6 separate regions of the Homo sapiens genome follow, and regions 1, 2, 3, 5 and 6 are each linked to region 4. Evidence: promoter capture Hi-C in 16 types of primary human blood cells and fetal thymus (Javierre and others, 2016). All regions are on one chromosome and are shown on one strand. Each heading gives the region's core, a stretch centred on a gene start or on the middle of the fragment in contact. The rest is flanking DNA. Distances are from core to core; before and after follow the strand shown.

Region 1 (3,181 bases), core at 320-2,819, 370 kb before region 4:
CAGCCACCTGTAATCCCAGCTACTCAGGAGGCTGAAGCAGGAGAATCACTTGCACCCAGGAGACGGAGGTTGCAGTGAGCTGAGATTGCACCACTGCACTCCAGCCCGGGCAACAGAGTGAGACTCCAGTCTCAAAAAAAAAAAAAAAAAAAAAAAAAAGTAAAAAGAAAACGCAATGGAAACAGCAGGTTCTATAAAATAAAGAATGAAAAAATAGGCTGGGCGCGGTGGCTCACGCCTGTAATCCCAGCACTTTGGGAGGCCGAGGCGGGTGGATCATGAGGTCAGGAGATGGGGATCATCTTGGCTAACACCGTGAAACCCCGTCTCTACTAAGAATACAAAAAAATTAGCTGGTTGTGGTCGCGGGCGCCTGTAGTCCCAGCTACTTAGGAGGCTAGGCAGGAGAATGGTGTGAACCCAGGAGGCGGAGCTTGCAGTGAGCCGAGATTGCACCACTGCACTCCAGCCTGGGGGACAGAGAGAGACTCCGTCTCAAAAAAAAAAAAAAAAGAAAAAGAAAAAGAAAAAATAAAGGCCTACAGAAAGAATGACTGAATGGAAGAGACAGACCATGCCATCTATCACTGGCAGGTTTAATATGGAAGAATCATGGAAAGGCTCCAGGAACATGAGGAGCGGCATACAAAAAAGCTTGACACACACACACACACACACACACACACACACACACACACATATATATATATTTTTTCTTTTTGAGATGAAGTCACGCTCTTGTCCCCCAGATTGGAGTGCAGTGGCGCAACCTCGGCTCACCGCAACCTCCGCCTCCCGGGTTCAAGCGATTCTCCTGCCTCAGCCTCCTGAGTAGCTGGGATTACAAGCGCCTGCCACCACACCCAGCTATTTTTTTGTATTTTTAGTAGAGACGGGGTTTCAGCATGTTGGCCAGGCTGGTGTCAAACTCCCGACCTCAGGTGATCCGCCCGCCTTGGCTTCCCAAAGTGCAGGGATTACAGGCGTGAACCACTGGCGCTTGGCCTTATATATATATTTTAATAGAGACAGGGTCGAGCCGGGCACAGGCCTGGGCAACAAGAGTGAAACTCTGTCTCAAAAAAAAAAAAAAAAAAAAAAAGAAAAGAAAAAAAAAGACACACGGTCTTGCTATTTCACTCAGGCTGGTCTGGAACTCTTGGACTCAAGCTATCCACCTGCCTTAGCCTCCCAAAGTGCTGGAATTACAGGCGTGAGCCACTGAGCCCGCCCAGGATAAGCTTTGGAGGAGCATCCTCTGGGGTGCGTCCCATCCCCCATCCCCGCCTTTCCAACCCGTCTGGGCACCTGAAACGCGGGCTAGGCCGGGTCCCACCTCTAAACCGCCCCCAAATATGGGCCCCACCCCTCGCCCACGGTTCCGTCCAGAGGTCCGGTTCTAAACTCATCTTTTTCTCTGAACCCGTTTCTGCATCCCGCTCCCTGAGCCAACCCCAGGCACTGTCCGGCACCCACCCAGGAGGAAACTAGAATTTCTTTGTCCTACGTGCCTGAAACTCAAGCCCTGGAGCCCCACCCGGCCGGAGGCTCGGAGCGGAAGTGACGTCAGTGTGCCACCGCCATCTTTACCGGCTGTGGCTCAGCATGGTCAGTGCCGTTTAACCTTTATTGTGGTGGAGTCCACCCCGCTGTGGTGAGTTCTACCTGCTTGGGGGTCCGGGACATACCAGCGGGGCGGCAAAGGAAGGATTGGGCGTGGTCGCCCAGGAGCCTCTCAGATCCGCCTAGTTTCACTCGCTTTTCTAGGGGCTGTCAGTCCTCCTGGTGCGGCCTCTGGCCAGTTCCGAGAGGCCGCACAGTCCGTCTGGCTGCGTCGGGAAGTGTGTTTGTTCCGCCTCCGCCGGGTGTTTTCTTGAGTACTTTCATCCGCTGTGCTCCTCTCTTGAAAAGCTTGGAAAGCAACCTTTGGGAGTTTTTTTCTTTCCGAAAGGAAAAGGATTTCTGCCCTTCTGGTGAGGTTGGCTCTGGCCCCGCATTCTCCCGCGTCTGGAACCTATCTCTTCCGGCATGTTCCTGGTGAGCAACGGCGGAAAAATGGTTTCAAGAGGGCTGTGACTTCCATTTATTTGCTAAAAAATGTCTCATCTGAGAATCTGGCGTTGTCTTGATGTCCTTTACTTTTTTTTTTTTTTTGATTTGGAGTCTTACTCTGTCGCCCACGCTGGAGTGCAGTGGCACGATGTTGGCTCACTGCAACTTTCACCTCCCGGGTTCAAGTGATTGTTAGATATGAGTTTTAAATTTCTTTTTAAAAAATCAATATGTCAGTATGTTTAATTCTTTGCCTTCTACTTTTAAACTTCTCCGTAAAGCAACCTTTTTCGATCACCTGCTCCACCCTGACTCATTCTGATTACCTGCTCCACCCAGACTTATTTCGATTACTTACTCCACCCTGACTCATTTTCCACCCTGACTCATTCCAATTTCCTGCTCTGTTATAACCATTTTCCCCAACAAACCACTCACCCTGTCACTCTCTTTAAATTAGCCAATTGGAATTAGTTTAGCCTGTGGGGTCTAACCCTAGCCATCGGGGAAGGACAAAGCGGCAGGGGCCACTTTCCTCAAGAATAAGAACCCCTTCCCCTCCCTTGTCCTGGTGTGTGCTCACCATTGCTCCATCTGTGAGGGCACACCCTTCTGTAGAAGTAAATTGCCTTGCTGAGAAAAGAAAATGTTATATTTGAGTGCTTTTTTTTTGTGGCATGAAAACTTTATAACATGATTCACCTGCCTCAGCCTCCCGAGTAGCTGGGATTCCAGGCGTGCACCACCACACCTGGCTAATTTTTTATATTTTTGGTAGAGATGGGGTTTCACCATGTTGGCCAGGCTGGTCTCGAACTCCTGACCTCAAGTGATCCACCCGCCACTTATTTTTGACACATTACATTCAGATGGAAAAAACATAGTTGTTTAGGGTGTGCCCGTTTTTGTATGTAAATATGAACGCGTGTAGACTAAGCCTTTAGTTTTTAATTTTTATTTTCTTGCAGGTTATTTTTTTTCTAATTGTTACCAGCTGCAAGCCTTTCTACTTAAAGCCAGGCCAGATGCACTGGCTCACACCTGTAATCACAGCACTTTGGGAGGCAGAGGCAGGCGGATCACCTGAGGTCAGGAGATCCAGACTAGCCTAGCCAACATGGTAAAACCC
Region 2 (3,406 bases), core at 438-2,937, 260 kb before region 4:
CAGGTGAAAGGTAACCAAGTCTTGTTTTTTTCAAATTGGTATGGAGAAAAGACATTAGCTATGTCAATGCCTGCATACCAAGTGACAGAAATTATGTTGATTTATCTAGTAAAGGCATTACATTTTGAAAAATGGCGGTAATTGGAGTGATCACCTAAGTTCATGATTTATGAATGATTTCAGTGTGGTAATTGAGTGACAGGTTATGATTCTCCACTGGGATAAATCCAGTTTTTGGCTACTATAGTTTAGACTTTTTACATAGATGGAGCAGTATTCAAGTACAGAGATTGGTACACTATGGCCCATGGGCCATATCTGTCTCTCCATGTGTTTTTTGTATATAAAGTTTAATCAGAACACAACCGTGTTCATTTGTTTACATTTTCTATGGTATTTTCCATGCTACAACAGCAGAGTTGAGTAGCTGCAACAGAGACCATGTGGCCCATAATGCCTAACATATATTTTGTGGCTCTTTAGAGTAGGCTTTGTTAACTGCTTATCTATTTCATTTCTAGGGACAGCACGATCAGTTAGCCACCACCACAGATCTCTGTAGGTCAGGGCATTCTGATTACTGGTACATTTCCACTGTCCTTGATAGTTGATTTTCTCACCTTGTGTTTGGTGATTAAATACTACCTTCTTGATTTCTGCTATTCTGGGTCCCCTTCATCTCGATTGAAAGCAGGGAACTCGGCTGGGTGCGGTGGCTCACGCCTGTAATCCCAGCACTTTGGGAGGCTGAGGCGGGCAGATCACCTGAGGCCAGGAGTTCTAGACCATCCTGGCCAATATGGTTAAACCCCGTCTGTACTAAAAATACCCCCCCCCCTCGCAAAAAATTAGCCAAGTGTGGTGGCAGGTGCCTGTAATCCCAGCTACTTGGGAGGCTCAGGCAGGAGAATCGCTTTAACCCAGGAGGCGGAGGTTGCAGTGAGCCTAGACTGCGTCATTGCACTCCATCCTGGGCAACAAGAGCAAAACTCCGTCTCAAAAACAAACAAACAAACAAAAAAACCCAGGGAACTCATCTCAGTGATGGTATTCTTTGCAGTCATACCTGTCCTATGAAGGAGAATACCAACAGAGCTTTTCAAGGATTACGACACTCCCGCCACTACTCTCTTAATAACCTTTGTGAAGAGAGTGTCTTCTGCTCTGTCAACAAAGGGCGGGGGAGTGGGCTATACAGATGACACATAGTAAATCCAGTGCAACACTCCTGTCTCTCTAGGATTCCCTCCTTCACATTATGCCAGGGAAGCTCTGGCATATGAGCCTCATTAATTATAACAATTTCAGCCCTGAGAACATAAGAAATAACTTTATTTCAGGGGTGTCCTAAAGAAGCTCTCTGATTCTTTTGTTTTTGGATGGAATCTTGCTCTGTTGCCCAGCCTGGAGTGCAGTGGCATGATCTCGGCTCACTGCAGCCTCTGCTTCCTGAGTAAAAGCGATTCTCCTGCCTCAGCCTCCTGAGTGGTTGGGACTACAGGCACGTGCCACCACGCCCTGCTAATTTTTGTATTGCTTGAACTAGGGTGGGCGGCGGCAGAGGTTGTAGTGAGCGAAGATTGTGCCACTACACTCCAGCCTGGGGGACAGAGCAAAAATCTCTCAAAAAGAAAAAAAAGAGAGAGAGAGAGAGATGTAATACTACCCATGATATAAGAAAAGCTACAAAAGACACAATATTCGAGCTTTTGACGATATCGTAAAAAAAAAAAAAAAAAAAAAGATCTCGGCCAGGCGTGGTGGCTCACACCTGCAATCCCAGCACTTTGGGAGGCTGAGGTGGGCGGATCACCTGAGGTCGGGAGTTCAAGACAAGCCTGGCCAATGTGGTGAAACCCTGTCTCTATAAAAATACAAAAAAATTAGCCAGACCTGATGGTGGGTGCCTGTAACCCCAGCTGCTCACGAGGCTGAGGCAGGAGAATCACTTGAACCTGGGAGGTGGAGGTTGCAGTGAGTTGAGACAGTGCCATTGCACTCCAGCCTGGGTGACAGAGTGAGACTCTGTCTCAAAAAAAAAAACAAAACCAGAAAACAAAATAATGATCTCTCTTTGCACTTGGATTATTTCCTATTTGAATACACGTTTTAATGGTTTTTATTTTATTTTTTTTAAGACAGGGTCTCACTTTGTCACCTAGGTTGGAGTACAGTGGTGCAATCATGACTCACTGCAGCCTCAACCTCCCCAGGCTCAGGTGATTCTCCCACCTCAGCCTCCCAAAGTTCTGGGATTACAGGCATGAGCCACTGCGCCCAGTCTTTAATGGTTTTTAAATGTGTATTTAAGTCTGAATAGTGGGTATTTGGTCAGAGATAACCAACTCCTCAGGGCACAAAAGGATGAGATATATGAAATTTGAGCTCTTTTAAAATAGTTTCACTACTCTCTTTAGGAATATAGTTGTTTTTTTCTTGGTTACGTTTGTCATTTCCTTCATAAGCCTCTTCCATTGATGTATCTTTCCCTCTGTACAGGACCTATTCAAACTCAGTCTGTCTCTTGACTGGAGGAGGAGAAGGAAAAGTTGAGCACATTGCCAACCGGAGTTCCCCAAGGTGAGTATGAAGAACACTCCTGGTCAATGAGAAGTTCAGTATGTTTGGAAGCATAATGAAGATATATTTAAAAGATGTACTTTGTCACAGAACATGGGGCCATTGGACTTGGAAGTTTTAGGGTATCTTCAACTTTCCATATTCCTCTCTTTTTCATCTAACCCAGACTTTCATGTGATTTTGCAAATGAGTGCTCTTTTATCTTTTTGTTTATGACTTTAATGTGTGCTCTTTATCCAGATCATTTCTATTTTCCTTCCCTAATACTATTTCTGTTCATTATCTCATTTAATTTCTATAGAATAAATTGTTTAAAAAATTACTAAATTGCTGGGCATGGTGGCTTATGCCTGTAATCCCAGCACTTTGGGAGGCTGAGGCGGGTGGATCTTTTGAGGTCAGGAGTTGAGACCAGCCTGGCCAACATGGAGAAACCCCGTCTCTACTAAAAATACAAAAATTAGCCGGGCCTGGTGGTGGGCACCTGTAATCCAAGCTACTCGGAGGCTGAGGCAGGAGAATCGCTTGAACCCAGGAGGTGGAGGTTGCAGTGAGCCGAGATCATGCCACTGCACTCCAGCACTCCAGTCTGGGTGACAGAGCGAGACTCTGTCTCAAAAAAAAAAAAAATTACTAAGTTTAGACCCCAAGTCCTTACGATTGCCAAATGTTCGTCATGGATAAACTGTTCAAATCTATGTCTGTTTAATTTTTTTGAGTGTGCTGAATATGACAAATAAAAATGAGCTTTATAATTCTGACTTATTTAACCTACTGTTTTGTTCTCAGACCCTATTTTTTTTTCTTTTTTTCTGTTTTACTTCAG
Region 3 (3,262 bases), core at 428-2,927, 450 kb before region 4:
ATTGGTTCCCCATTGAAGGACATGGTGTTATGTCTTGCATGGGCCTCTTCTTTTGTGCATTTTTCCCTCCAGCAGGGTCTGAATTATTCAAACGTAGTCTCATGTCTGGATTGGAACAAATGGAAGAGCTGAGGACAGGAGTGACAGGAGTTCTGCAGGGTGAGTTCATAAGCAGATGTGGTATTATGGCACTGCTGTGCCACCCTAGGAGACATGCAGTACATTGGAAATGTTACTTTGCGAACTTCTCAGGGTATACTCTTCTTCCTGAGAAGGCTGAGGCCATTTGGTTTCCTTAGATACTTTCAACTCCCCTCATCTTTAAATTTCCATTGATCTTCTCAACCTCTTTTCTGTTCTCAGAAAGGTTTGTCTGCCTTATTTGAAAATTCCATCTTATGCATGTAGGTCCTTTGCCAACACCTTCTTATATTGCTTTCTTGATTCTCCCATCTTTTTGCTTACTACCAGCCTCAGTTTTCTGCATATTATTAGTTGGATAATAAGTAATACAGGTTTTTTTTTTTTTTGAGATGGAGTCTTGCACTGTCGCCCTGGCTGGTGTGCAGTGACATGATCTTGGCTTGCTGCAACCTCCACCTCCTGGGTTCAAGCAATTCTCCTGCCTCAGCCTCCCAAGTAGCTAAGATTACAGGCACCTGACACCACGCCCAACTAATTTTTTGTATTTTTGTAGAGATGGGATTTCACTATGTTGGCCAGGCTGTTCTCGAACTCCTGACCTTGTGATTCACCTGCCTCAGCCTCCCAAAGTGCTGGCATTACAGGTGTAGTGATAGTTTTGACACCATATCTTTACCATTGCAAAACTTCTGACATAGCCAAACTCTTTATAGTCCATCTTTCCATTTGCTTCACTCTTTTTTTTTTTAATCATGTTTTATGCATGTTTGGAAAGATATACAAATGTGCCATATACTTTTTTTAGGTAAAATATACAAAAATTTACCATTTTAGTGTTGTGTAGCTATCAGCTCTTTTTAGTTTCAAGGCATTTCTTTGTTTGTTTGTTTGTTTGAGACAGAGTCTCTCTCTGTTGCCCAGGATAGAGTCCAGTGGAGCCATCTTGGCTCACTGCAACCTCCATCAGCTTCCTGGCTTCAAGTGATTCTCCTGCCTCAGCCTTCTGAGTAGTTGGGACTACAGGCGTGCGCCACCATGCCTGGTGAATTTTTGTGTTTTTTGATAGAGATGGAGTTTCACCATGTTGGCCAGGCTGGTCTCAAACTCCTGACCTCAAGTGACCCACCTGCCTCCGTCTCCCAAAGTGTTGGGATTACAGGCATGAGCCAGTGTGCTTGGTCTAGTTTCAAAGCATTACCATCACACCAAAAGGAAACCATATACCCATCAAGTAGTCAGTCCCCACTCACCCTACAGAGACTAATTTGCTTTCTCTCTCTACGGATTTACCCTTTCTGTATATCTTATATAAATGGAATCATACAATGTAACCTTTTCTCTCTAGCTTCTTTCACTTAGCTATATATATATGTATATATATATTTTTTTCTTTTTTGACACAGAGTCTCACTCTGTCACCCAGGCTGGAGTGCAATGGCATGATCTTGACTCACTGCAACCTCTGCCTCCTGGTTTCAAGTGATTCTCATGACTCAGCCACTTGAGTAGCTGGGATTACAGGTGTACACCACCATGTCTGGCCAATTTTTGTATTTTTAGTAGAGACAGCACTTCACCATGTTGGCCGGGCTGGTCTCGAACTCCTGAACTCAAGTGATCCACCTACCTTGACCTCCCAAAGTGCTGGGATTATAGGCATGAACCACCACACCCAGCCCAGCACAGTTGATTCTGATAGGTTTTCTGAACTTATTAGTCATATTGTGGTAGGAAAGAGCCCTGTAGTTCTTCACTCTGCCACATTTGATTATGCTATGTCTGTTCCTTAGGCATTTTTTTTTTTTGAGACGAAGTCTTGCTCTGTAGCCCAGGCTGGAGTGCAGTGGTGGATCTCACCTCACCGCAACCTCCACCCTCTGGGTTCAAGTGATTCTCCTGCCTCAGCCTCCTGAGTAGCTGGGATTACAGGCATGCACCACTGCACCTGGCTAATTTTTTGTATTTTTAGTAGAGACAGTGTTTCACCATGTTGGCCAGGCTGGTCTTGAACTCCTAACCTCAGGTAAGCCACCTATCTAGGCCTCCAAAAGTGCTAGGATTACAGGTGTGAGCCACCACGCCCAGCCCCATAGGCTTTTAAACGACTTTATTCCACAATTTTTCTCCCAAGCTGCATTTTTCACTTTATTTCAGAATTGGATTTGCAACTCAAAACCAAAGGCTCCCCACTGCTGCAAGATATTTCTGCAGAAAGATCACCAAATGGAGTACAATTGGTAAGATTTCCAAGGGATGAAATCTTCCACACTAGGACAAGAAGCACAATATTCATGAAAATTATATGAGGAAAATGGCATTTACCCAGAGAAAACAAAGTCTGAAGAGATTCTCTGAATATCATGAATATGGGAAGCACTCTAAACTTACTACAAACATATTTCTTCTCAGAGATCTCACAAATAAACATCCACAAACATACAACTCAGCTATTCAGTTTTTTGTGCATAATTTCTTTTACTTTATTATTATTTTTGAGACAAGGTCTTACTCTGTTGCTCAGGCTGGTGTGCAATGGTGCAGTCTTGGCTCACTGCAACCTCTGTTTCCTGGGCTCAAATGATCCTCCAGCCTCAGCCTCCTGAATAGCTGAGACTACAGGCATGAGCCACCATGCCTGGCTGATTATTTTTTTTTTTGTAGAGATGGGGTTTCACCATTTTGTCCAGGCTGGTCTCAAACTCCTGAGCTCAAAGCAATCCACCTGCCTTGGCCTCCCAAAGTGCTGGGATTACAGTCATGAGCCACTGTGCCCAGCCCATAATTTAGTCTAAATAATTCTCAGATGTATTGTGGCTAATGCCTGTAATCCCAGCACTTTGGGAGGCCAAAGCGGGCAGATCACTTGAGGCCAGGAGTTGGAGACTAGCCTGGTCAACATGGCAAAAATCTGTGTTTACTAAAAATACAAAAATTAGCTGGGCATAGTGGCACATGCCTGTAATCCTAGCTACTTGGGAGGCTGAGGCCTGAGAATCCCTTGAACTGGGAGGCAGAGATTGCTGTGAGTCAAGATCGTGCCACTGCACTTCAGCCTGGGTGACAGAGTGAGAATCTTTCTTAAATAAATAAATAAATAAATATCAGACAGATTGTCTAA
Region 4 (3,323 bases), core at 348-2,847:
TTTCTATTGTCGCCCAGGCTGGAGTGCAATGGCGCGATCTCAGCTCACTGCAACCTCTGCCTCCCAGGTTCAAGCGATTCTCCTTGCCTCAGCCTCCTGAGTAGCTGGGATTACAGGCACCCGCCACCATGCCCAGCTAATTTTTTGTATTTTTAGTAGAGATGGGGTTTCACCATGGTAGCCAGGCTGGTCTTGAACACCTGACCTCAGGTAATCCACCGGCCTCGGCCTCCCAAAGTGCTGGGATTACAGGCATGAGCCACTGCGCCTTGCCTAAAATTAAATATTTTATATGGATATCATATTATAAACTAAGAGGAGCAAAATTATGTTATCAACTCAATTGTTGCATAAACATTTGATAGTGTTCATAAAAAATTATTGATAAAATATCTTTATAAACCTGGTTTAAAAAGATTAACTTGATAAGAGGTGCAACCTGTTGTAAACAGCTTACTGAGGAACTTTGGTAATCATTACCGACCAAGACAAGAATGCTTAATTTCTTTCCGACTTATAGTTGAGGAAGCCCTAAACAAACAATAAGAAAAAGAAATGACTCTGGGTGTGGTGGCTTACACCTGTACCCCTAGCACTCTGGGAGGCTGAGGTGAGAGGATAGCTTGAGCTCAGGAGTTTGAGACCAGCTTCAGCAACATAGTGCGATCCCATCTCTACAAAAAAATAAAGAAAATAGCTGGGTGGGGTGGTACGCGACTGTATTCTCAGCTACTTGGGGGGCTGAGATGGGACCATCACTTGAGCTGGGGAAGTCAAGGCTGCAGTGAGCCATGGTCGCGCCACTGCACTCCAGTCTAGGCGATAGAATGAGACATTGCCTCACATAAAGAAATGAGTTATACACATTAAAACAATGAAAATATGCAGAGAAAATATTTATATTTGATGGTTCAAATAATAAACTGACAGCTATCAGAATTCAGCAAGTTTCCAGGAAAAAGGTTCTATTTAAATAATTATCAATGGCTTCCCTCTACAGGAGAAGTTATCAATACAACAATGAAAGGGAAAACTAAAAGGCCCAAAAGGACTGAGTGAGTGTCAAGGAGAGTCTGTTTCCTATTAGAGCTGCAAATATATGTGTCCTGTGTACAGGACTGTAGCAACGTGGAGGATAGGTAGAAACCCGATCGATGAGCATCCTGTATCCGTGGTAGCTGAGAACCTGGATGGGAAGCCCTAGCCTTAGCCCCATCCCTAGGCCTTGTCACTTAAGCCCCGCCCAGCCCTCGTCTCCGCCCCCTAGGAATTTCTACCAAGCCCCGCTCCCAATCTGGTTCCACCTTTAGCCCCGCCCCTTGGAGTATTTAAAAGGCCACGCCCCTAGGTCTAGCCCCAGTTCCGCCCCTCAGGCCGAGTCATGCAAGTCCAGTTCAGGGTTCTGTTTCTTCTCTGTTTACTCCAAATCATGAAGAAACTAGGATTTCTCATCCACTTGCGGCTGGAACCAGCCTTGGCGCTCCTTTGCATCCCGCTCCTACCTGCTCCACCCCCTTCACCTCAAGTCCCGCTTCCCAGGCCCCGCCCCATACGCCATTTGCAGCGCCGAAAGAGGAATCAGAAGTGTGCTTCTGCGCATGCGCGAGTCGACAGCCTTGTCACCCTACGCCTCCGCCCGCGTCTGAGGAACATTTTTGCCTCCGCCCGCTTCCTGTCCTGCCCTGCCCCGCCCCGCCCTGCCTGCCCCGGGTCGGGTCCGCGGGAGACCGAGGGCTGGGTTTGGGAATCGGCGGTCTAAGGGCTGCCTCCCCGCCACTCCTTGTCCGGACCCCGCGCCCGGGGCCTCCCGCCGCCGCGGCGCCTCCTCAGAGAGCCCGGGTCAGCTGCCCCTGTGGCCGCGGCTGGTCCCAAACTCACTGAATCGGGAACTCTGGTCTGGGTACAGAAATCGGGGTGATTCTGATGCAGGCGAGAGTTGGAGAACCAATGTCGTAGTTCATCAGCCTCCGAAAGCATCCTTTGCTCTCTTTCCAGAAAGGAAGAGCATCTCTGCCATTCGTGTCTCAAGGACAAGCGCTTCAGCCTCGTTCTCTGTGAGCTGATCTGTGGATCGCGGCGTGTCGGGTGAGCACGGGGTGACATTTGCCTCGGCTCGGTCCCCTCCTGTCCCCTCTTTATGCATTAGGTAGTGTTTGGGCCAAGCGCGGTGGTTCACGCCTGTAATCCCAGCACTTTGGGCGGCCGAGGCGGGCGGATCGCTTGAGCCCAGGAGTTTGAGGCCAGCCTGGGCAACATAGCAAGATCCCGTCTCTACCAAAAAAAAAAAAAAAAAAAAAAGTAAAATAAAAGGTGCTCTCCTGTGTTCCCAGCTACTCGGGAGGCAGAGGTTGCAGTGAGCTGAGATCGCATCACTGCACTCCAGCCTGGGCAACAGAGCGAGACACTGTCTCAAAAAAACAAAAAGATAGTATTTGGTCTCTGGATATTATATTCTGCCTGTGGACATCAGTTTGATACATTATATTCAAGTGAAAGTGAACTGATGCATTTTGTCATTAATGATGCATTTGAATCATTTGTCTATAGATTGGTTAAATTTCACACAGAAAATTTGGTCATCTGTCAGTTTCAATCTTTTCCCTTTTTATTCCTTGCAGTTTCCATTTCTTTTCATTTCTTTACTGCACTTGCCAGGACCTCCAGTACAATGTCCGACAGAATAGCATGTAATTTACATCCTGTCTTGTTTCTGATTCCAGAGGGAATTATTCTATCATTTCACCATTAAATAGGATGTTTGCTGTAGGTGTTTGTAGGTTTTTTTCCTTTCTTTATTCCTATTTCTTTTTAGAAAATAGGAGTCTCGCTCTGTTGCCCGGGCAGGTCTCGAACTCATGGGCTCTCCGCCTCCCAAAGTGCTGGAATTACAGGCATGAGCCACTGCACCCGGCCTGACCGTGTTTTAAACCGCTGATTTTTTTTTCTTTAATTACTGGGTGTAATCAGGTTTTAGATCACTGCTTGAAAGTTGTACTACTTTCTAGAAATTCATTAATTACCTGTGCATCTTCATATTTATTCCTTAAATTTTTTCTATATTCTCCTTATGATATCTGTAATTATGATTAATTCTTGTTCATTTTTTTTTTGTTGTTGTTGTTTATGCCCTGTTGCTCTTAAAATTGCTGAGTCTGTTGCTGGCTGCAGTGGCGCATATCTGTAGTCCCAGCTGGTGGGAAGCTAAGGCAGATGGATCGCTTGAGCCTAGGAAATGAGATCAACCTGGGAACATAAAGAGTCTGTCTTAAACAATAAATTAAATTAAAAAATTTTTTTAAAAAGCTGAGTTTGTCAGTTTCATT
Region 5 (3,170 bases), core at 69-2,568, 500 kb before region 4:
GTGGGTGGATCACTTGAGCCCAGGAGTTTAAGGCCAACCTGGGACATCTGAGGCAAGTGAATCACTTTGAGTTCAGGAGTTTGAGACCAGCTTGGGCAACATGGTGAAACCCTGTCTCTACAGAAAAAATTAGCCAGGTGTGGTGGTGTGCATCTACCCAGCTGGTATCCCAGCTATTCAGGAGGCTGAGGTGGGAGGATTGCTTAAGCCTGGGACTCGGAGGTTGCAGTGAACTGTGATCACCACTGCACTCCAGACTGGGTGACAGAGTGAGACCCTGTCTCAAAAAAAAAAAAAATAAAACAAAAGGAGATAATGGGGACAGGAGTGGGCAGGGCCTTGCAGGTGGCTCAGGCTTTAGGGGTTCAGTAAGTAACACCACCTTTTCCTGCCTTTCGAGTCTGAACCACTTGAAAGATGCAGGTGTCAGATTATAAGTGTGAGTGCCTACCCGTGAGATGAGCGTTGCTGTGTGTGGCTAAGCCCCGGCTCTGTGGGTTCACCACCTGCTCAGCAGGCCCAGGTGCCTCCTCTGGTGCTTAGAGCCAGGTTGGAGAAGAGAGCTGAGCTGGGTACACTTGGTTTCTTATTCCAAGCTTACCCATCAGAGAAGAGCCAGAGATGTTCCTCCCATGCTCTTCCCACTCAGAGTTGCAGTAGAAATTCCTTCTCTTTCTGTCTCTCTTTTTTTTTTTTTTTTGAAACGGAGTCTTGATCTGTTGCCCAGGCTGGAGTGGTGCAGTGGTGCAATCTTAGCTCACTGCAACCTCTGCCTCCCAGGATCAAATGATTCTCCTGCCTCAGCCTCCTAAGTAGCTGGGAATACAGGCGTGTGCCACCATGCCTGGCTAATTTTTGTATTTTTAGTAGAGTTGGAGTTTCACCATATTGGTCAGGCTGGTCTCAAACTCCTGACCTTGTGATCTGCCCACCTTGGCCTCCCAAAGTGCTGGGATTACAGGTGTGAGCCACTGCGCCCAACCTTTTTTTTTTTTTTTTTTTTTTTTTTAAATAGAGATGGGGCCAGGCACGGTGTGTCCCATGCCTGTAATCCCAGCACTTTGGGACACCAAGGCGGGAGGATCATCTGAGGTCAGGAGTTCGAGACCAGCCTGGCCAACATGGTGAAACCCCGTCTCTACTAAAAATACAAAGATTAGCTGGACTTGGTGGCACATGCCTATAATCCCAGCTACTCAGGAGGCTGAGGCAGGAGAATCGCTTGAACCCTGGAGTGGGAGGTTGCAGAGAGCCGAGATTGTACCACTGCACTCCAGTCTGGGCAACAGAGAGAGACTCTGTTTCAAAAATAAATATAGATAGATAGATAGGAGGTTGCAGAGAGCCGAGATTGTGCCACTGTACTCCAGCCTGGGCAACAGAGAGAGACTCTGTTTCAAAAATAAATATAGATAGATAGATAGACAGACAGGTAGACAGACAGAGACAGGAGTCTCCCTATGTTGCCAAGACTGGTCTCGAACTCCTGGGCTCAAGCCATCCTACTTCAGCCTCCCAAGTAGCTGGGACCACAGGAATGTGCCACCACACCTAGCTACTTTTTATTTTTTGTAGAGATGGGGGTCTCACTGTGTTGCCCAGGCTGGTCTCTAACTCCTGAGTGCAAATGATCCTCCTGCCTTGGCCTCCCAAAATACTGGGATTACAGGCATGAGCCACCTCACCTGAAATTCCTTCTCCATCTGGCCACATGAGGACTAGGCTATGAGTGTGCCCCTGATGTGGCCCTAGTCAAGGTCTGATTGTCCAATGCTGTGACCACCCCAGCAGCTCCAGCCCAGGACATCAGGGGGCTGGGTTGAACCAGGTAGAAACAGAGATTGGTGAAGTCTCAGAGCCTGTGGGAACAAGGAGGGAAATGAGGTTTGTTTTGCTTGCAGAGAGTGTCTGGAGAGCTGGGGTCAGTTTGGGAGAACATGAGGGTGACTCAACACCAGCCCTGTGCTGGACTCTGCAGGTGGTTCTGGAAGTGCATTGCCGATGCCCCAACCTGGAACAACTCTAGGGCAAAAAAGCTTCCTTTCTTTTTCCTCTCTGCCTTTCCAGTTGGAAGGGAGGGAGCAGCAGGCATTCGTTTTAGTTTTTTTGTTTGTTTTTTGGAGATGCTAGTCTCACTCTGTCACCTAAGCTGGAGTGCAATGGTGCGATCTCAGCTCACTGCAACCTCTGCCTCCAAGGTTTATGCTGCAGCCTGCCTCAGCCTCCTGAGTACCTGGGATTACAGGCACATGCCACCACACCCAGCCAATTTTTATATTTTTAGGAGATGGGGTTTCACCATGTTGGCCAGGCTGGTCTCAAACTCCTGGCCTTAAGTGATCCGCCTGCTTTAGCGTCCCAAAGTGCTGGGATTACAGGTGTGAGCCGCTGCAACTGGCCAGCAGGCATTAATTTTGAAGCAGGTAAGTGTTTACAGGCAGTGCTAGCAGGTGGGGGAAGAAGGCCCTGATCTGTAGCATTTGCAGATTACTATGGTGTAAACACTGTCTCACCACAGCTGGTTTCAAGCTACCAACAGTTTAACAACTGGCTCACAAAATAGTTGAAGATTCAGCATTTGGCTCTCCTGAGCTGTGGCATACCACTGGTTACAGGTGTCTTCTTCCTGGGCTTACCCTATGGAGAATTCATTCTGCCTTAGTGACCTCTAACATGGGCCTTGCCCCAAGGGGTGATGGGGTGATGGGACATCAGACAGAGCTTCTCCCCTTTTGGAACCTCCCCACCCCTAATCATTGCCTTCTCCCAGATAAGGGGCTGGGGGCTTCAGGACTGCCCTCCAATGAAGGCAAAGCATAATCACAATAGCTGACATTATTATTTTATTTTTATTTATTTATTTTGAGACATGGTCTTACTCCATCACCCAAGCTGGAGTGCAGTGGTGTGACTGTAGCTCACTGCAGCCTCGAACTCCTGGGTTCAAGCAATCTTCCCACCTCATCCTCCCCAGCAGCTGGGAATACAGGCATGCACCACCACACCTGGCTAATTTTTAAAAAGAATTATTATTATTATTATTTTGTAAAGACGTGGTCTCACTGTGTTGCCCAGGTTGGTCTCAAACTGCTTGGCTCAAGCGATCCTCCTGCCTCAGCCTCCCGAAGTGGTGAGATTACAGGCGTGAGCCACCACACCCAGCCTACTGA
Region 6 (3,257 bases), core at 63-2,562, 290 kb before region 4:
CTCCAGCCTCAGCCTCCCAAGTAGCTGGGGTTATTTTTGTATTTTTAGTAGAGATGGGGTTTCACCATACTGGTCAGGCTGGTCTCGAACTCCTGACCTCAGGTGATCCACCCGCTTTGGCCTTCCAAAGTGCTGGGACTACAGGCGTGAGCCACCATGCCCGGCCCATTCCATTCCATTCCATTCCATTCCATTCCATTCCATTCATTCCATTCCATTCCATTGCATTCTTGAGATGGAGTCTTGCTGTGTTGCCCAGGCTGGAGTGCAATGACTTGATCTTGGCTGACTGCAACCTCTGCCTCCTGGATTCAAGCGATTCTCCTGCCTCAGCCTCCTGAGTAGCTGGGACTACAGGCATGAACCACGACACCCGGCTAATATTGTATTTTTATTAGAGATGGGGTTTCATCATGTTGGTCAGGCTGGTCTCAAACTCCTGACCTCAGGCGATCTGCCCGCCTCAGCCTCCCAAAGTGCTGGGATTTCAGGAGTGAGCCACCACGACTGGCCTAAGGGATACATTTTTTAAAGTTAATTAATTATTTATTGATTGATGAATGACAGAGTCTGCCTTTGTCATCCAGGCTGGATGGAGTGCAGTAGCGTGATCTCAGCTCACTGCAACCTGCCACTCCAGAGCTCAAGCGATTCTCCTGCTTCAGCCTCCCAAGTAGCTTGGATTACATGCCTCCACTACCATGCTGGGCTAATTTTTGTATTTTTAGTAGAGACGGGGTGTCGCCATGTTGGCTATGCTGGTCTGGAACTCCTTAGCTAAGTGATCTGCCTGCTTCAGCCTCCCAAAGTGCTGGGATTACAGTGTGAGTTGTCACGCAAAACCTGGTTGACAGGGGGTCCCTCACCTGGGAAACTTGTTTATACTGATAGATGACCTAGGCCGCTCTTTTTTTTTTTTTTTTTTTTTTTTTTAAGATGGAGTCTCCCTGTGTCTCCCAAGCTGGAGCGCAGTGGCCCGATCTTGGCTTACTTCAACCTCCGCCTCCTGGGTTCAAGCAGTTCTCCTGCCTCAGCCTCCCCGAGTAGCTGGGACTACAGGCATATGCCACCACACCCAGCTAATATTTTTGGTATTTTTAGTAGAGACGAGGTTTCACCATGTTGGCCAGGCTGGTCTCAAACTCTTGACCTCAGGTGATCCGCTCACCTTGGCCTCCCAAAGTGCTGGGATTACAGGCGTGAGTCACCGTGCCCAGCGACATAGCTGCTCTTGTCTGACCTGTGTTCAGTTTATGCCTGCCTGATCATCACTCTGACACTGGAAACCTGACCTTGTGTCCCCACCAGCTCCCTGGGGAAATCTCAACCAGGGGCGGCCCCTGGTTCTTCAGATGGTATGTGCAAATTCAAAACACCACCCCAATAGGACATAATTTCAAAGATTTATTGCTTACACGTCCTGGGAAGGGAGGGCAAAATGAGTTTTGAGGACAGTCTTCCATCCATGGGTCACGCAAGGCAGGGATGAGAGGCAGAGAAGGAGGGAGGTTGTGGCAGCTAGCTGTATACATAAGGGAATAGGGTGTGAGTCACTTTAAATTTAGGAGCAAATACATGGATAGTCAGTTTAAAGGAAGTAGGAGGAAAACACTATCTTGGGCAGGAAAGATGTCTCTAGATTCTTTCTAGATTTTTTTTTTTTTGAGACACAGTTTTGCTCTGTCACCCAGGCTAGAGTGCAGTGGTGTGATCTCGGCTCACTGCGAGCTCTGCCTCCCGGGTTCACTCCATTCTGCCTTGGCCTCCTGGGTAGCTGGGAGTACAGGTGCCCACAACCACGCCCGGCTAATTTTTTTGTGTGTGTTTTTAGTAGAGACGGCGATTCACTGTGTTAGCCAGGATGGTCTCAATCTCCTGACCTCGTGATCCACCCGCCTCGGCCTCCCAAAGTGCTGGGATTACAGGCGTGAGCCACCGCGCCTGGCCAATTCTTTCTGCATTCTTATCTCTAGCCACAGGCTTGAGCTGATTGGGTGTGGTGTTTATTTATTTACTTATTTTTTTGAGATGGAGTCTCTGCACCCAGGCTGGAGTGCAGTGTAGCGATCTTGGCTCACTGCAACCTCTGCCTCTTGGGTTCAAGCAATTCTCCTGTCTCAGCCTCCTGAGTATCTGGGACTACAGGCACGCACCAGCATGCCCAGCTAATTTTTGTATTTTTTAGTAGAGATGGGGTTTCACCATATTGGCCAGGCTGGTGTCGAACTCCTGACCTCGTAATCCACCCACCTCAGCCTCCCAAAGTGCTGGGATTAAAGGCCTGAGCCACTGTGCCTGGCCTCTTTGTTAATTTTTTAAAATATTAAATATGTAAAGGAATAAAGGGCCAAGCACAGTGGCTCATGTCTGTAATCCCAACAATGTAGGAGGCCAAGGCTGAGCATGGTGGCTCATGCCTGTAATCTGAGCACTTTGGGTGGCCTTGGCAGGTGGATCACAAGGTCAGGAGATCAAGAGCATCCTGGCCAACATGGTGAAACCCCGTCTCTACTAAAAATACGAAAATTCACTGGGCGTGGTGGCTGGCACCTGTAGTCCCAGCTACTTGGGGGGCTGAGGCATGAGAATCACTTGAACCCAGGAGGCAGAGGTTGCAGTGAGCTGAGATCAGTCCACTGCACTCCAGCCTGGCAACAGAGTGAGAGTCTGTCTCAAAAAAAAAAAAAAGAAATGTGGGAGGCCAAGGATAGAGAATCACTTTAGAGTTGTTGAGTGTGAATTCGAAGTTTCCCTTCAAAGAATTAATATGTCAGTATGCTCAATTCTTTGCCTTCTACTTTTAAACTTCCTCGTAAAGCAACCTTTTCCACCCTGACACATTCTACTCCTTGACTCATTACCTACTCCACCCTGACTCATTCTGCTCATTCAGATTACCTTCTCCACCCTGACTCATTCATTCCAATTCATTTCATAACCATTTTTCCTGCCAAACCACTCACCCCGTCCATCTCTTTAAATTAATCAGTTGGAATTAGTTTAGCCTGTGTGGTCTAACTCTACCCAATAGGGGAATGACACAGCAGTAGGGACCAGGTGCATCAGTAATAAGAACGCCTTTCCCTCCTTTGTGAAGGTGTGTGCCCACCATTGCTCCATCTGTGAGAGCACACCCTTCTATAGAAGTACCTTGCCTTGCTGAGAATTAAAAATAAAATTTTATATTTGAATGCGATTTCTTTTTCTTTTTTTTTTTTTTTTTGAGATGGAGTCTCACTCTGTTGTCCAGGCTGGGG

Evidence for each region. Contacts are between HindIII fragments. The CHiCAGO score rates a contact against its expected background, and 5 or more counts as called.
Region 1: a contact is called between the fragment with the promoter of ZNF562 here and the fragment with the promoter of ZNF699 in region 4, in 4 of 17 cell types (naive CD4 T cells, fetal thymus, total CD8 T cells and 1 more). The highest score is 5.5, in naive CD4 T cells.
Region 2: a fragment that was not itself captured here is called in contact with the fragment with the promoter of ZNF699 in region 4 in 9 of 17 cell types (naive CD8 T cells, total CD4 T cells, non-activated CD4 T cells and 6 more); the score reaches 9.7 in naive CD8 T cells.
Region 3: a contact is called between a fragment that was not itself captured here and the fragment with the promoter of ZNF699 in region 4, in 3 of 17 cell types (neutrophils, naive CD8 T cells and monocytes). The highest score is 7.6, in neutrophils.
Region 5: a fragment that was not itself captured here is called in contact with the fragment with the promoter of ZNF699 in region 4 in 1 of 17 cell types (neutrophils); the score reaches 6.3 in neutrophils.
Region 6: a contact is called between a fragment that was not itself captured here and the fragment with the promoter of ZNF699 in region 4, in 4 of 17 cell types (naive CD8 T cells, total CD4 T cells, total B cells and 1 more). The highest score is 7.7, in naive CD8 T cells.

Annotation. Positions count from the first base shown.
Region 1 is chr19:9,673,488-9,676,668 of GRCh38, reverse strand. It overlaps ZNF562 (zinc finger protein 562), which reads left to right and starts at 1,569. Exons shown (of 6, transcript NM_001130031.2): 1 at 1,569-1,654. RefSeq lists enhancers at 363-1,362, 1,625-1,684, 1,363-1,862, 1,401-2,600. The HindIII fragment of the contact is 670 bases long and covers 1,244-1,913 here.
Region 2 is chr19:9,568,176-9,571,581 of GRCh38, reverse strand. It overlaps ZNF121 (zinc finger protein 121), which reads left to right. Exons shown (of 4, transcript NM_001008727.5): 2 at 2,500-2,580. Among named protein-coding and RNA genes, the nearest start is that of ZNF121, 15 kb to the left of the region's middle. The HindIII fragment of the contact is 7,355 bases long and covers 1-3,406 here.
Region 3 is chr19:9,758,979-9,762,240 of GRCh38, reverse strand. It overlaps ZNF846 (zinc finger protein 846), which reads left to right. Exons shown (of 6, transcript NM_001077624.3): 4 at 73-159; 5 at 2,299-2,381. Among named protein-coding and RNA genes, the nearest start is that of ZNF846, 8.1 kb to the left of the region's middle. The HindIII fragment of the contact is 4,547 bases long and covers 1-3,262 here.
Region 4 is chr19:9,308,112-9,311,434 of GRCh38, reverse strand. It overlaps ZNF699 (zinc finger protein 699), which reads left to right and starts at 1,597. Exons shown (of 6, transcript NM_198535.3): 1 at 1,597-2,085. RefSeq lists an enhancer at 1,498-1,617 and a silencer at 1,678-1,927. The HindIII fragment of the contact is 15,955 bases long and covers 1-3,323 here.
Region 5 is chr19:9,806,320-9,809,489 of GRCh38, reverse strand. No RefSeq gene overlaps it. Among named protein-coding and RNA genes, the nearest start is that of FBXL12, 11 kb to the left of the region's middle. The HindIII fragment of the contact is 1,440 bases long and covers 599-2,038 here.
Region 6 is chr19:9,596,820-9,600,076 of GRCh38, reverse strand. No RefSeq gene overlaps it. Among named protein-coding and RNA genes, the nearest start is that of ZNF121, 14 kb to the right of the region's middle. The HindIII fragment of the contact is 8,305 bases long and covers 1-3,257 here.